Linked DNA regions of Homo sapiens: region 1 is linked to region 2. Evidence: promoter capture Hi-C in 16 types of primary human blood cells and fetal thymus (Javierre and others, 2016). All regions are on one chromosome and are shown on one strand. The core of a region is centred on a gene start or on the middle of the fragment in contact, and the rest is flanking DNA. Distances in the headings are between cores, read along the strand shown. Region 1 overlaps LOC105369422 (a long non-coding RNA gene). Region 2 holds the start of PICALM (phosphatidylinositol binding clathrin assembly protein).

Evidence for each region. The method cuts DNA at HindIII sites, captures the fragments that hold promoters and counts their contacts. A CHiCAGO score of 5 or more calls a contact.
Region 1: a fragment that was not itself captured here is called in contact with the fragment with the promoter of PICALM in region 2 in 1 of 17 cell types (non-activated CD4 T cells); the score reaches 5.6 in non-activated CD4 T cells.

Annotation. Positions count from the first base shown.
Region 1 is chr11:87,029,937-87,036,564 of GRCh38, forward strand. The region is part of intron 1 of LOC105369422 (a long non-coding RNA gene); the gene reads right to left. Among named protein-coding and RNA genes, the nearest start is that of TMEM135, 4.7 kb to the right of the region's middle. The HindIII fragment of the contact is 2,330 bases long and covers 3,895-6,224 here.
Region 2 is chr11:86,063,982-86,070,704 of GRCh38, forward strand. PICALM (phosphatidylinositol binding clathrin assembly protein) reads right to left here and starts at 5,103. Exons shown (of 20, transcript NM_007166.4): 1 at 4,670-5,103. The coding sequence starts at 4,799. It overlaps LOC124902731 (a long non-coding RNA gene), which reads left to right and starts at 5,943. Exons shown (of 2, transcript XR_007062823.1): 1 at 5,943-6,723. RefSeq lists enhancers at 3,749-4,451, 4,452-5,153, 4,893-6,092 and silencers at 4,718-4,767, 4,838-4,887, 5,028-5,197, 5,348-5,617. The HindIII fragment of the contact is 7,123 bases long and covers 3,947-6,723 here.

The sequences.
Region 1 (6,628 bases), core at 3,810-6,309, 970 kb after region 2:
ACCCGCCTCGGCCTCCTAAAGTGCTGGGATTACAAGCATGAGCCACAACCGGCCTTAACAAGAGTACAGTGCTTTCAAATTTCTCTCCCACCAAGACTTCTTTTATTAAATATTAAACATGTTCTGTGTACAAGGCACTGTGCTATGTGGTACAGAAGATAATAAAGATGTGTCAGAAATAGATCTTGTCCTTAAGGGGCATTATGATGACTGGAATTTTGTTAAAAATATAAAACTGCCAGGTGTGGTGGCTCACGCCTGTAATCCCAGCACTTTGGGAGGCAGAGGTGGGCAGATCACAAAGTCAGGAGATCGAGACCATCCTGGCTAACGGGCTGAAACCCCATCTCTACTAGAAATACAAAAAATTAGCTGGGCGTGGTGGCGTGTGCCTGTAGTCCCAGCTACTCAGGAGGCTGGGGCAGGAGAATGGCATGAACCCGGGAGGCAGAGCTTGCAGTGAGCTGAGATTGTGCCAATGCACTCCAGCATGGGCAACAGAGTGAGACTCCATCTCAAAAAAAAAAAAAATATATATATATATATATAATATATATAACATATATATAATATATATTATATATATATTATGTGATGATCAGTTTGCATTAGTTCATTTATAGTAAGCTATACTATTGCACATATATTCATTTAAGAAAAGAGAGTCATACAGTTCACAAAGATGGAAGAGAATCATTGGAGGTTAGCTGGTTGTCTTACAGGTAGCCTGACCCTGCAGTTGATATTTGTGACAGAGATGGCGCAAAATGCTTAACAAAATCTCATTTCATTTTCCTTTCCTGGTTACATGGAAAGACTACGTTTTCCATCCTCCTTTGTGGTTAGGTTGGGGACATGTGACTAAGTTCTGGAAGTGGGATGTAAGCAGAAGTGATGTAAACCACTTCCAGGTCTGGCCCTTAAAAGTGAAAGCAGTGATTGGTATCTGCGAAAGTTAAATGTATGCTGGCCCCATGACGTAGCACATCTACTCTTAGGTATATGCTCAAGAAAAACAAAAGCATACGTCTACAAAAGTCAAGTAAAAGAATGTCCCTTGCTGGGTAATTCATAGTAGGTTCAAACATGCAACAACACAAATGTCCTCAAATGAAAAAATTGTGCTATATTCATACAATAGACCCAATATAGCAATAAAAATGAATGAACTATAGCTACATACGACAACATGCATAAGATCTTGAGTGAAGGAAGCCAGACACAAAAAATATTCAACGTATGCATTTGTTACTATAAGCTTTAGGAACAGGCAAAATGAAGCTATGATGCTAGAAGTGAGAATAGTGGTTACCTCTGTTTGCAGGTGTATTTACTGGGAAGGGGCACTAAAGAGCCTTCTGGGGTGATGGAAATACTTTTTTTTAATCTGCATAGCAGTCTCAGGGCAAATAGTAGTCTCAGTAAAGGCAAATTTAAAAATTCATCAAGCTGTACACTTAAATTTTGTGCATGCTGCTATGCAAAAGAACTAAAAATTATGCACACATGAAAAATCAAAGAAGCAAGGAAAAAATTAAAAAAAGTGACCACTGACGAAGGCCCAGTGCAGATGGAAGAGGCTATATTCCTGAATCACTGGTTGCCCTTGCCCTGAAGAACTGGCCAGTCTGCTTTGGAGTTTGTGTAAACACAAAATAAATCTTTCTTATTTTAAATTCTCTGAGATTTAGAGTGTATGTGGTATCTCGGCATAGCCTAACCATTCTTGGCTAATACAGAATTTATTGCCACAAACAACCAGGGTAAAAAACCTGGCTTTGGAAGCATATCAGGGAGGCTCTTCCTTTCTCAGGCTAAGTGATATAAAACAAGCTTATAAATGAGTGCATAAATCAAGCTGCCAATTTATTAAATAACAATAGAAAATTAAAACCTGTCATACAAACTAGGATATCTGTTACCTAATATATAACCATTCTGTCTCTCAAGACAGACCTGCATGGGAAGCCAAACTGTAATAAAAGTTTGTTTTATTCTCAGAAAGAAAACATTAGTTAGATGAGTCAGTTATTTAATGACATCTGTCCAGGAGAAGCTATGCATCCCATTTCATAGTTAATTCCTGAGGTCCCTGGGCTGCAGTTCTCATTCCCAGGCATGCACCTGAATTGCCTCAGGGGGCTCCTCGTTTTTTTTTCTTCCAATTCTATCAATACACTTGTCTTCTACAGATATGTTATTGCATAAGTCTACTGTTTTTAGAGAGATGTGGCTGGCCTCTAAAGCATTCCTTGTACACATCTACATGTTGATTTTGTGTTTTTCCTCTCAAAGAATAATCATAAATCTTTTACTTTTTTATTATTTATTTATTTATTTATTTATTTATTTGAGATGGAGTCTTGCTCTGTTGTCCAGGCTGGAGTGCAGTGGCACCATCTCGGCTCACTGCAAGCTCCGCTTCCTGGGTTCACGCCATTCTCCTGCCTCAGCCTCCCAAGTAGCTGGGACTACAGGCGCCTGCCACCATGCCCGGCTAATTTGTTTTGTATTTTTAGTAGAGACAGGGTTTCACTGTGTTAGCCAGGATGGTCTCGATCTCCCGACCTCGTGATCCTCCCACCTCAGCCTCCAAAAGTATCTTTTACTTTTACATTCTGTGGTTGGAGTGGTAGGGGTTTGGAGAGAATGGTGTCCTTAGCTGTAGCTTCCAAGTACTGGTAACATCAAACTAATATAGATGCTGAGAATTCTAGACAGTGTATGTACCTGAATATTTTGTAAGGCCACTTGAGAGTTTTTTCTACAATCTTTGAAGGCTTGAAGGGAGGAAACTGTTAGGAAAGGCTGGAGAAAAAGGGATCCCTGTTATGCAGTGGCAGAAAGTTTGGCAACACTGTTGCATGCTGAAATGCAGAAAATAGAAAATATATCTAACAAACTGGTGTATTTGCAGTTAAGGAAATTTCCAGACAGACTGTTGAAAATGCCAACTGATTAAAAAAAAAAAACCTATGTGGAATAAGATGTAGAGAGGTGAGATATAAAAGGAACAATTTCATTTTTAAGCAAAATTTAGAGAAAATATACACAGTCTGGGAACTTTGGGTTCAAAAATAAAACTGCTTTTCACTTCCAGCCTCTCCAGATGGTGAAACAACTAAGGCATTGCCTTAAGGGGAAGGTACAATCCAGGGTGCAGCTATTTAGATTTTTTGTAAAGACTGTACAAAGATTTAAAGCCATTTTACCTAGACCATTTCAGCTAGACAAAAGCACTTCTAAGTGTATAAGGGTGTTTTCCATCAGCTTTCTTACTCTCAGCCCAAGACGGAAAGTGTTTGTCTCAGAGGTTTGTGAGTGTGGCTTTTTTTTCTATTGGAGTGGATTATAATTTGATATATATGAAGTCCCCAAAATCTTAAAGAGAATTGTATTGGCAGACACACTGCCTACTTGGACTGAAAGGGCATATGTATCTTTTAATACTCCAGATTTGAATATTAAAATTTATATTTACATATTAGAAACTCAATATTTTAAATAAAATGACGTAAGGAAAAACCTGAAGTTATGTTGCAACAAAAATTAGTAGAAAATTAGAATTATGGCTGGGCATGGTGGCTCATGTCTGTAATCCCAGCACTTTGGGAGGCTGAGGCAGGTGAATTACCTAAGGTCAGGGAGTTTGGGACCAGCCTGGACTACATGGTGAAACCCCGTCTCTACTAAAAATACAGAAATTAGCCGGGTGTGGTGGTGGGTGCCACTAATCTCAGCTAGTGAGGCAGAAGAATCACTTGAGCCCAGGAGGCGGAGTTTGCAGTGAGCCGAGATCGTCCCATTGCACTCCAGCTTGGGTGACACAGCAAGACTCCGTCTCAAAAGAAAAGAAAAGAAAAGAAAATCAGAATCATATGTAGCTTTGTGAAAAGCTTGGTTACTGACTGTTGCTGGAATCAAGAGCTACTACAGTGTCATACTTCGAGTTTGCCGTACTTTGCCATTGTACTTGTGCCTGATAATTATTTCTACAATGACTGCATGTAGATCTAAACTAGATTAGTGTCGTTAAATCCTCTGCATTAGATCTTAAGAGCTCTTCCATTCTTTTTCGTTGACATCTTCAAAACTAGAATCCTACAAGAGCAACAACTTTGTGTTTTTTTTTTTTTTTTCATTCTTCCATCACAAAGAAAGGGGCAACAATTTTCATCTTGGCGTTTCTTCAAAGCCTTTGAATTCCATCATAAATTGCCAGATTAGTTTTCTTCATCCACTGTGCACCTTCTTTGGAGAAACTCTTTGCTTCACCTTGTTGATGAACCCTAAAGCCCTCCCTGCGTTTTTTTAATGAAAAAGAAGAAACAATGAAGCCCCCAGAAAGTATCCAATCAAGCCACTGTCATAGCCAACCTAAAAGAATAAATGACCCATGCAGATGCAATGTTTAACATTATCTTTAAACTTAATGGTGGCATGAAGAGAAGGCTTTCTTTTAAAAAACAGCCTGCTATATCTTATAATACCATATAAAGAAATTTACAAATGTAAGCTACTGGTTTAACTGCATACTGCTCCATTTTGCAATTTTTTTTGCATCCTAAAGCACAGATCATCTCCCCTGAGGATTTATCAATGCCTTCCTGTTTTGGAATCTCCATAGCAGCACTAGAAAAGATAGAGTATCCTTTCTTTTGAACTTGGGAGTTTCCCTGAAATCACCCCTTTGCCACCCAGCTCATCAGCATTGTCCCCTTTGGCACCATCCCCTTTTTCTCAAATTTCTTTATGCTTCAAGTCTCCATTTAACAGTTAATTAGGACCAGGTGTGTTGGTGCACACCTGTAATCCCAGCAGTTTGGGAGGCTGAGGTGGGTGGACAGCTTGAGCCCAGGAGTTCAAGAGCAGTCTGGGTAACACAGGGAGACCCTACAAATAATTTAAAAACATTAGCCAGGTGTGGTGGCGTACCTGTGGTCCCAGCTACTCAGGAGGCTGAGGCAGGAGGATCTCCTGAGCCCAGGGGATATAGGCTGCTGTGAGCTGTGATTGCGCCACTGCACTTCAGCCTGGGTAGCAGAGTGAGACCATGTCTCAAAACAAACAAAAAACAGTTAACTAAAAGAAACCACCTGGTTTTAATTGTAATTTTAAAATTTCCTTATTTATTAATGTGTAATTGCTGGGCCACATAGTAAACATATTGTTTATTATCAGGCATGAAAACTATATTGTGCTATTACATTCAGAAGCAACTGAGAGTTAACAATCATATTAAAAATTTTTTTTTTTTTGAGACGGAGTCTTGTTCTGTTGCCCAGGCTGGAGTGTAGTGGCACCATCTCGGCTCACTGCAACCTCCGCCTCCCAGGTTCAAGTGATTCTCCTGCCTCAGCCTCCTGAGTAGCTGGGATTACAGGTGTCCACCACCATGTCTGGCTACTTTTTGTATTTTTAGTAGAGATGGAGTTTCACCATAGGCCAGGCTGGTCTTGAACTTATGACCTCAGGTGATCCACCAAGCTCAGCCTCCCAAAGTGTTGGGATTATAGGTATCAGCCACCGTGCCCAGCTCGTATTAATTGTTTGGTGAATAAGATGTTATTTGTATAGTATTGTACATCTTAACATGATCATTTTTTGTTAATATTTGATACTATGTTTTAAATACTTGTTAAGAATTTTTTGGTTGATATGTAATGCATTTTATTTTTTCCCATTTAAAACTAAGTTCCTATTCAGCATTTTCTTGTGAAAGGATCACAGATATTCAGGAATGGATTATTGAAAAAAAATAAGCCTGCACTGCTATTTCTGTAATTTTTTGGATAAGTTTATGCTGTGTTTTTGATCTTCTTAGTTTCTGAATTGGAGATTTGAAAAAAATTGTGATTATCTTGTTCCTATTCTACCATTGTATATTGGATGTGTTGAGGCGGATGATAACTTTATCATGAGATCTGCATCTGGTCCTGAGGAATATTCTGGACTTTGGCTAGGATTCAGCAACTGCATGGAATTTTAGGTTGTCTCCCTTGGAAAAGGGAAGGTATGTCTATCTGTAGAAAGAATGGTGTGCCCGGATATTTGGGTAGCCAGAGACATAGAACTATGGCAGACACTGCTAGTTGCCTCTAATATCTGTTTTTTCCATTTTGCTCAGTAATAAAACCTCAAATGTTAGCTGGGCATTTGTCCCATTAATTAAAAAAGATTGTATTCACCATCCTCTCTTGCAATGAAGTGTGGCCATGTGATTAAGCTTTGTCCAAGGAACGTAAGTTGTAGTAGTTTGTATGGATCTTCTGGGAAGTTTTTTTAAAAACAGGAAGTATGCCCTTTTCTCCCCGCCCCCGCCCCCCCGTTTTTTTTTTTTTTTTTTTTTTGAGATAGAGTCTCTCTCTGTTGCCAAGGCAACAGTGGTGTGATCTTGGCCCACTGCAACCTCTGCCTCCTGAGTTCAAGCGATTCTCCTGCCTCAGTCCCTGAGTAGCTACGATTACAGGAGCGTGTCACCATTTCTGGCAAATTTTTGTATTTTTAGTAGAGACAGGGTTTCACCATGTTGGCCAGGCTGGTCTCAAACTCCTGACCTCAAGTGATCCACCCGCCTCAGCCTCTCAAAGTACTAGGATTACAGGTGTGAGCCACCGCGCCCGGCCTC
Region 2 (6,723 bases), core at 3,853-6,352:
TAGTTACCAGATCCTTCTTGACAATACGCAAACTAAGCACCCATAAGATATTATTAACTGAGACATTAAAAACCATTTGTGCTTTAAAAGGGAATTAATTCAGGTACAGTCTGGTATGTTATACGCATTTTTAATGTAGTTACACAAACCACTAGCCCAAATACAAATTCTACATATGCAAAATATTCAAATCCTACTTTTTAAAAACTTATTTCCAATTTCTAGATCCAGTTCACAACATACAAATAACCATGCTGTATCGACCAGAGATATGTTGATAATGGATGCTTAGTAAGAACTTGATCTTGATTTTGTTTTAGAAAAGATAAGGCAGTGGTTGAAATGAAATGTCCCTGTAAATTAACTGGGGAAAATATGAATTAAAAAACAGAGACATACAGGATATGGTGACTCACACCTATAATCCCAGCACTTTAGGAGGCTCAGCTGGTAGAGAGGATCCTTGAGCCCAGGAGTTTGAGACCTGCCCGAGCAACACAAGGAGACCCTGTCTGTATAAAAATTAAAAATTAGCTGTGCGTGGTAGCAGATGCCTGTGGTCCCAGGTACTCAGAAAGATTGTCTGAACCCGGGAAGTCAAGGCTGCAGTGAGATGTGATTCCACCACTGCACTCCAGCCTGGGCAACAGAGTAAGACCCACCTCATTTTAAAAAAAAAAAAAAAAAAGGAGACATTACAGCCATTAGTATAAATATTACATTTCAGTGAAATATGTCAAAATATAAATGTCCAACGATAGTAAATAAGAATAAAGAAAATTAAGAATTCATATCAAAAAATAGGATAAGGGCCAGGCATGCTGGCTCACACCTGTAATCCCAGCACTCTGGGAGGCTGAGGCAAGAGGATTACTTGAGCCCAGGAGTTCAAGACCAGCCTGGGCCACATAGGGAGACCCCCATCTCTCCAAAAATAAAAAGTTTCTTTAATTAACCAGGCGTGGTGGCACATGCCTATAGTCCCAGCTACTTGGGAGACTGATGTGGGAGGATTTCTTGAGCCTGAGGAGGATAAGGCTGCAGTGAGCCATGATCCTGCCACTGCACACCAGAGACAGAGCAAGACCCTGTATCCAAAAAAAGGGGTGGGGTTAAGACTAAAGATTGTAAGATCAGATAAAAATGATTTTTATATTAAGAAGTTATAAATTAAAAATTGTGGGCCAGGCACAGTGGCTCACACGTCTGTAATCCCAGCCCTTTGGGAGGCCGAGGCGGGCGAATCATGTGGTCAAGAGATCCAGACCATCCTGGCCAACATGGTGAAACCCCATCTCTACTAAAAATACAAAAATTAGCTGGGTGTGGTGGCATGCGCCTGTAGTCACAGCTACTCAAGAGGCTGAGGCAGAATCTCTTGAACCTGGGAGGCAGAGGTTGCAGTGAGCCAAGATCGCACCACTGCACTCCAGCCTGGCGACAGAGCGAGACTCCGTCTCAAAAAAAAAAAAAATTTGTTTTTTCTATCCTGCAATAATTATGGTTCTTTTAAGCATTCTGTACTGCTAAATGGAATTAGAAGCTACTTTCTATGTATATGAATTGCCCCCACCTCCAGCTGTGAGACAGGATTAAATGAGATGATGAGAAAGTGCCTGGAAAACTGAAGTTCTTCAAATATAAGGGCTGCTATTCCTCTACCTTGATTATGGCTACTAAAGGCCTAAGATTAAACGGAAATCGTGTTTATTTTTACAAACATATTTCAAGTTTGACAACTCTTTCACACTAGGGATGCTAGTCAACACTATTATCCACTAACACCTACAGTATAAGCAAAGCAAAAAAATCTTTCTTCAGTAAGTATATAATGTAGTATGAATTAAGCCATAATTCATGAATTATTAATAATCACTTCCTAATGTGGAAAGATCTTGGCGAGAAACTGACAGAAACCACCTCCACACTCTAAGGGCTTATACGAAAAACAACAGTCCTAAGCATATTTTTTGTTAAATGCTGCCATTTTAAAATGAAATCATTTTCATTAGATTCATATAAATAAGCATCAGTTGCTAGGGGCATTAAAAGGTGCACATAAACTAAGCTTTCACTATAAAGAAAAATTCCTAAAAGACAAAAAATTACTTGAAATGACAGGTTTCTGTATTAAAGCCTAAAGTTCATGATGTCAACACCATGAACTGTCCGTAGAAGACTTTTTAATTTTCTCAAAGCATGTTAGTGTGTGCAAGGAAGGTATTTGTTTAGTAAACCACTCACTGGTCAGACTTTACCTAAGATAAAGGTATTTTATTAGTGAGAACTGATTACAGGACATTTTAATCAACAATGTAGGGAAAATAGTATCCCTGTATTTTAAAACCTCATTGAAAAGAAACAGAAGCACATTAACGACACATATATTTTTAAATCAAATACTACCAGGTATATTCAAGTTCCAAAAACGTGGGAGCTTGTAAACACAGAAGTGGTAGAGAAAAAGAACGACAAATGCAAGATTATCCTCCAAACCTAATCCCAGTTACCATCTATCTGCAGTAGTGGCTATAACAAGAGAAATAGCTAATAACATTTATGAAACAACATGCAAATAGCACTCTTCTAACCCTACCTATTTTCTCCTCTTTTTGACAATGCTTTAAAAGAACCACTGCTACATTTGAAATAAGACACAAACCTTTACAAAAAAAACTTTTAAAAGCCTTATCGATTCTTATTTTGAATGAGGAAAGAGGAAAATAGTTCACACAGTCACAACTAGTTTCTTCATACTCCCATACAAAAAAAAAAAACAAAAAAAAACCAAAAGCAACTAACAAAAGAATTAACACAGTGTCAGGACAAACTGTAAGATTTGGTAGGGCAAACCAAGTAGTATTTGAAGAGCCGTAAATAGCAGAAACGTCTACTACACGTATCAGATAATCAAAAAATCACATATGGCTTTACGATGCATTTTAAAAAGTTTTCTGTTCATAAGAGTGTCACCATTTAAACATATTCTCCATTCTCTAAGACAAGCAAGGACTGAGAGTTTAAAAGCAGCCTGCATGCATATCTGAAAGAATCAAGCACTAATGCTTTTTTATTTAAAACTTTTTTCCACAGTGGAGGAACAATCACAAAGAATAATAGGCTTCTGTGTAGCAAAAACTTGTTCTAACAGCATTCATGAGCACAGTAACTTGGAAGAATCTACATTTCGTACATTTTTTTTAAAGTGCAAACTTTACGGCCAAAGTCCAAATGAGAAATCAAAACAGGCTTCCAGACAGTGAATTATCTTTCAGGGCATGCTCACTCTTGCTTCAAACAGTAAAACAAAGTAACTTTCATGTATGATGAAAGTCAGTCAGACTAATGTGTCCAGTCATTTAAAAAGGGAACTTACTTATCGTGACTATTGCCCTATTTTTCCCTGAAAAGTTTCAGGTCTAAGCTCCATTGGCTTGAGTGATCCAATGAGCTTTGTACCCTGGGGTAAAAGAGCGCAAAGAAAAAGGAGGGTATTACAGGTGACTTCCAGGTTAGAAAAAAGTTACGAGGAGTTAGCTCTACTAATTGTATCTACGTTAGCGAATGGACGAATACTATGTCGTGTAAGAGAAGCTAAAGCTAGTTCCTCAAAAGGTAACTGGCATAATTAAAACATCCAAACTCAAGCATCATCAAACATCATTTTGCCAATTTTTTTAAGGGATGTATGTTATTTGTAAGTAAATTTATTAATCCATTTGGAATTCCAACAGTCTACGCTTAACACTCAAGCTTCTGAATTCAAGCCGCCAGAATTAACAGTTCCAGGAACTGATAAGAGTATCAGCAAAATGCCTTTTTCCATATCCCCATGTGAAAAGCTGGGGGGCAGAGCTGACAGTCACAAACTCACCCCAGTCAAAAGTATGGACAACACAACGATTAAATTCCACCAGAGGCAAATAAAAATCCCAACTTTCCAGAAAGCTTTCCCTACACCAAATTGAATCCTTTTACTTTCACTCCCACAAAGAAGGTAATCTGAAATAAAAGTCGGGTAACTGGGTATGGTATTTAAAATGAGTCGAAGAAACTACACTGAAGCTACTATAGAGGCGATGAAAAGGTAACCCAAAAGCAGGAGGGAAGGTGGAACAGAAAGCCAGGAAGGGATGGGCGAAGCAGCTAGTGGAGCAAAGGAAGTGGGGGATCCCTTCCAGGGAGGCAGCCCGGAGGGATAACAAGGATCTGGATGCAAGGAACCAGGCGTTTACTGAAACCCGAAGGAGGCTGATGAAGAAACAATGGGGCTTGGAGACGCTCAGACGAGGGCGACGAGGCGGCACCGGACGGGTGGGAAGGAAGAGCAGAAGGCTGCAGTGGAGACGGGTAGGGGGTGAGAAGCCAGGTGGGGAAGCAAGTTGGTTGGGTATGATGGGGTGTGGTAGCGCACCGGGCAGGGAGACGAGGGTCCCCTAGGAATAGGGAGGGGAGTGGCTTGTCAGATTTTGAGACGGGGAGCGGAGGCCGTGAAGGCAGGTGTGATGGAAGCAAAAGAACACAGCTCAACGGGCACAGGACCGGCCGTGCCAGAGAAGACGCAGGGAGGGAAGAGGCAGTAGAAGGGTGAAAGACAAGAGAGAGAGAGAAGGACGCGCGCGGGTCGCGCGGGCGCCGGGGAGCGGGGGCCGCGGTCGGCTTCACTCACAGTCCAGGTGCTTTTTCTTGGGCCCCATGATCTCGTGGGTCGTGGCCTTGCATACTGTCTTGGATACGGCAGAGCCGGTGACACTGTGCTGGGCGGCAGTGATTCGGTCCGTCAGGCTCTGGCCGGACATCTCTGCAGCTCCTCCACCACCCCACCCGCTCAGCAGCCGGCGGGGACTGGGACCCCCAAGAGCCGGAGGGTCCCCACCCCCCACCGCACCCCCTACCCCCACCGGCTCCTTCCCCGCCTGCCGGCCTGGGGCGCGGTTCGGGGCCGCGCGCTGCCACCAGTCCAGAGAGAACCGGCTCGTGTCACCCGCGGAGTCGGACAAGATGTCGGGCACTCCCTTGCCCCCGCCTCAGTTCAGCCCACCCCTTCCCGGGTCAGCTGGAGCCGGGCAGGGTAAGAGGAACAGGCAGCTGCAGGAAAATGGCGGCGCCAGGCTCCTCCTCGGAGCTTTCCGGGCTGCCCCGGGTCACGTGACTCGGACACCGCCCCTCCTCCCTTCTCCCGCCCCTTTCCCCTTCCCTTTCCTCTTCGACGCCCGCCCTCCCTCGCTCAGCGAGGGAAGAGCTGGGCGGCGCCCGCGCGTTACGTGATGGAACTCGCCAGGCGGGCGCAACAGGAGGCCCGCCCGAGGGGAGTGCACAGCCGGCGCATCACGTGACTCTCCCTGCCAACAGGTCGCCTGAGGCTCGGCCCGCGGGGTCACAGACGCCGGGCGGGGCGGGGCGGGAGAGGAATGGCGAGGGCGGTGTGCTGGCGGGGGTGGGGCGGGGCGGCAGGCTTCTCCCCTTATCCCCCCACCTCAAGTGTGTCCTCGTGTCTGTGGTTGAAACCAACAGCTTGACAAAGGAGGTGCAGCTGCCTTCACAGCTTCCCCTGAAGTGGGGGGTATTAGGCCTCTGGCTCCCCGAGCTTTCCCAGCAGAGTCAAGAATGTATTTCAAGACGCCTCCCAAAGCCGCCCTCCTGGCTTAAAGGAGAAGGTTCCAAACGGCCTATTTTCTGAACCTTCCAGCAGGCCTCTCTCTACCATGGAACTATTGAAGCTCTCCTTATTTACTTACCCCAGAAAGGTTTTTTCCCCCCTTTCCTTGAGAGGCTTGGAAATGTCACCTGGTTTTGTTTATCTCTACTCCGAAAACCCGACACGTTGCTGCCATTCTAAATTTAGATACTAGCTGGCCGGTATTCATTCTCTAGGGTGTGGAATAGGACAGGAAACACATAGCTTCACTGGAATTTGAAAAGGGAAGTAGTAGGATGATGTCAACAGCGATTAGCTTGACCCTACATGGCTGACTGCTGTGGTGATTAAAGGTCCAGACCATAGAAGGAAGTGAGAGGGGCGGTAAATGGAGAAGTCCCATTCAAACAGTCCAGACATCACTGCCTGCCATCTCCCCTGGTTTAGTCTTTCTTACCTTTGGCCTCTTTTCTCTTATTGGGTGAGCCAGATTTCCATGGAAAGACGTTGACACTGCCCTGTGGACATTTTAAAAGAAGTATTACATCCTGAAATACTATTCAATGAGACCCAGACCATACATTAACAAAGCCTTTTATATGTTATTAGAGCCTCTACATTCAACCCAGGGTTAGGGATAAGTTGAAAAATATGTGAGTGCTAAGTTACCATGATAGTCACATGTAATCTTGCTAGTTTCAAATGAAATGCTAACATTCTCAGAAAGTCTGTGTACACCATCTGCCAGCCAAATCCAAAATACTGTGCTTCAATCTGGTGACTCTCAAAGGATGCAAAGCTGATAGATATTTAACATTTTATGTATCATATCAGGAATTTTGTGGTCTCCCATTTTCCCCACGCCCCCTCACCCCTCTTTTTTCCCCACTATGGCTGGTGAAATTCTGCAGCAACATGCTCTTGCCAAGAACACACAAGTTTTTAATCCCAGCAGGCTTCATCTTTGTCAAGCCAGCCTCCAATTTCACAAAACTATAATGAATTCCTTCAGTGTACTGCAATCCATCTGTGGTTTGGTGCCCAGTTTGCTGCCCCACGTCCACTGGGCAGTGGAATTACCAAAT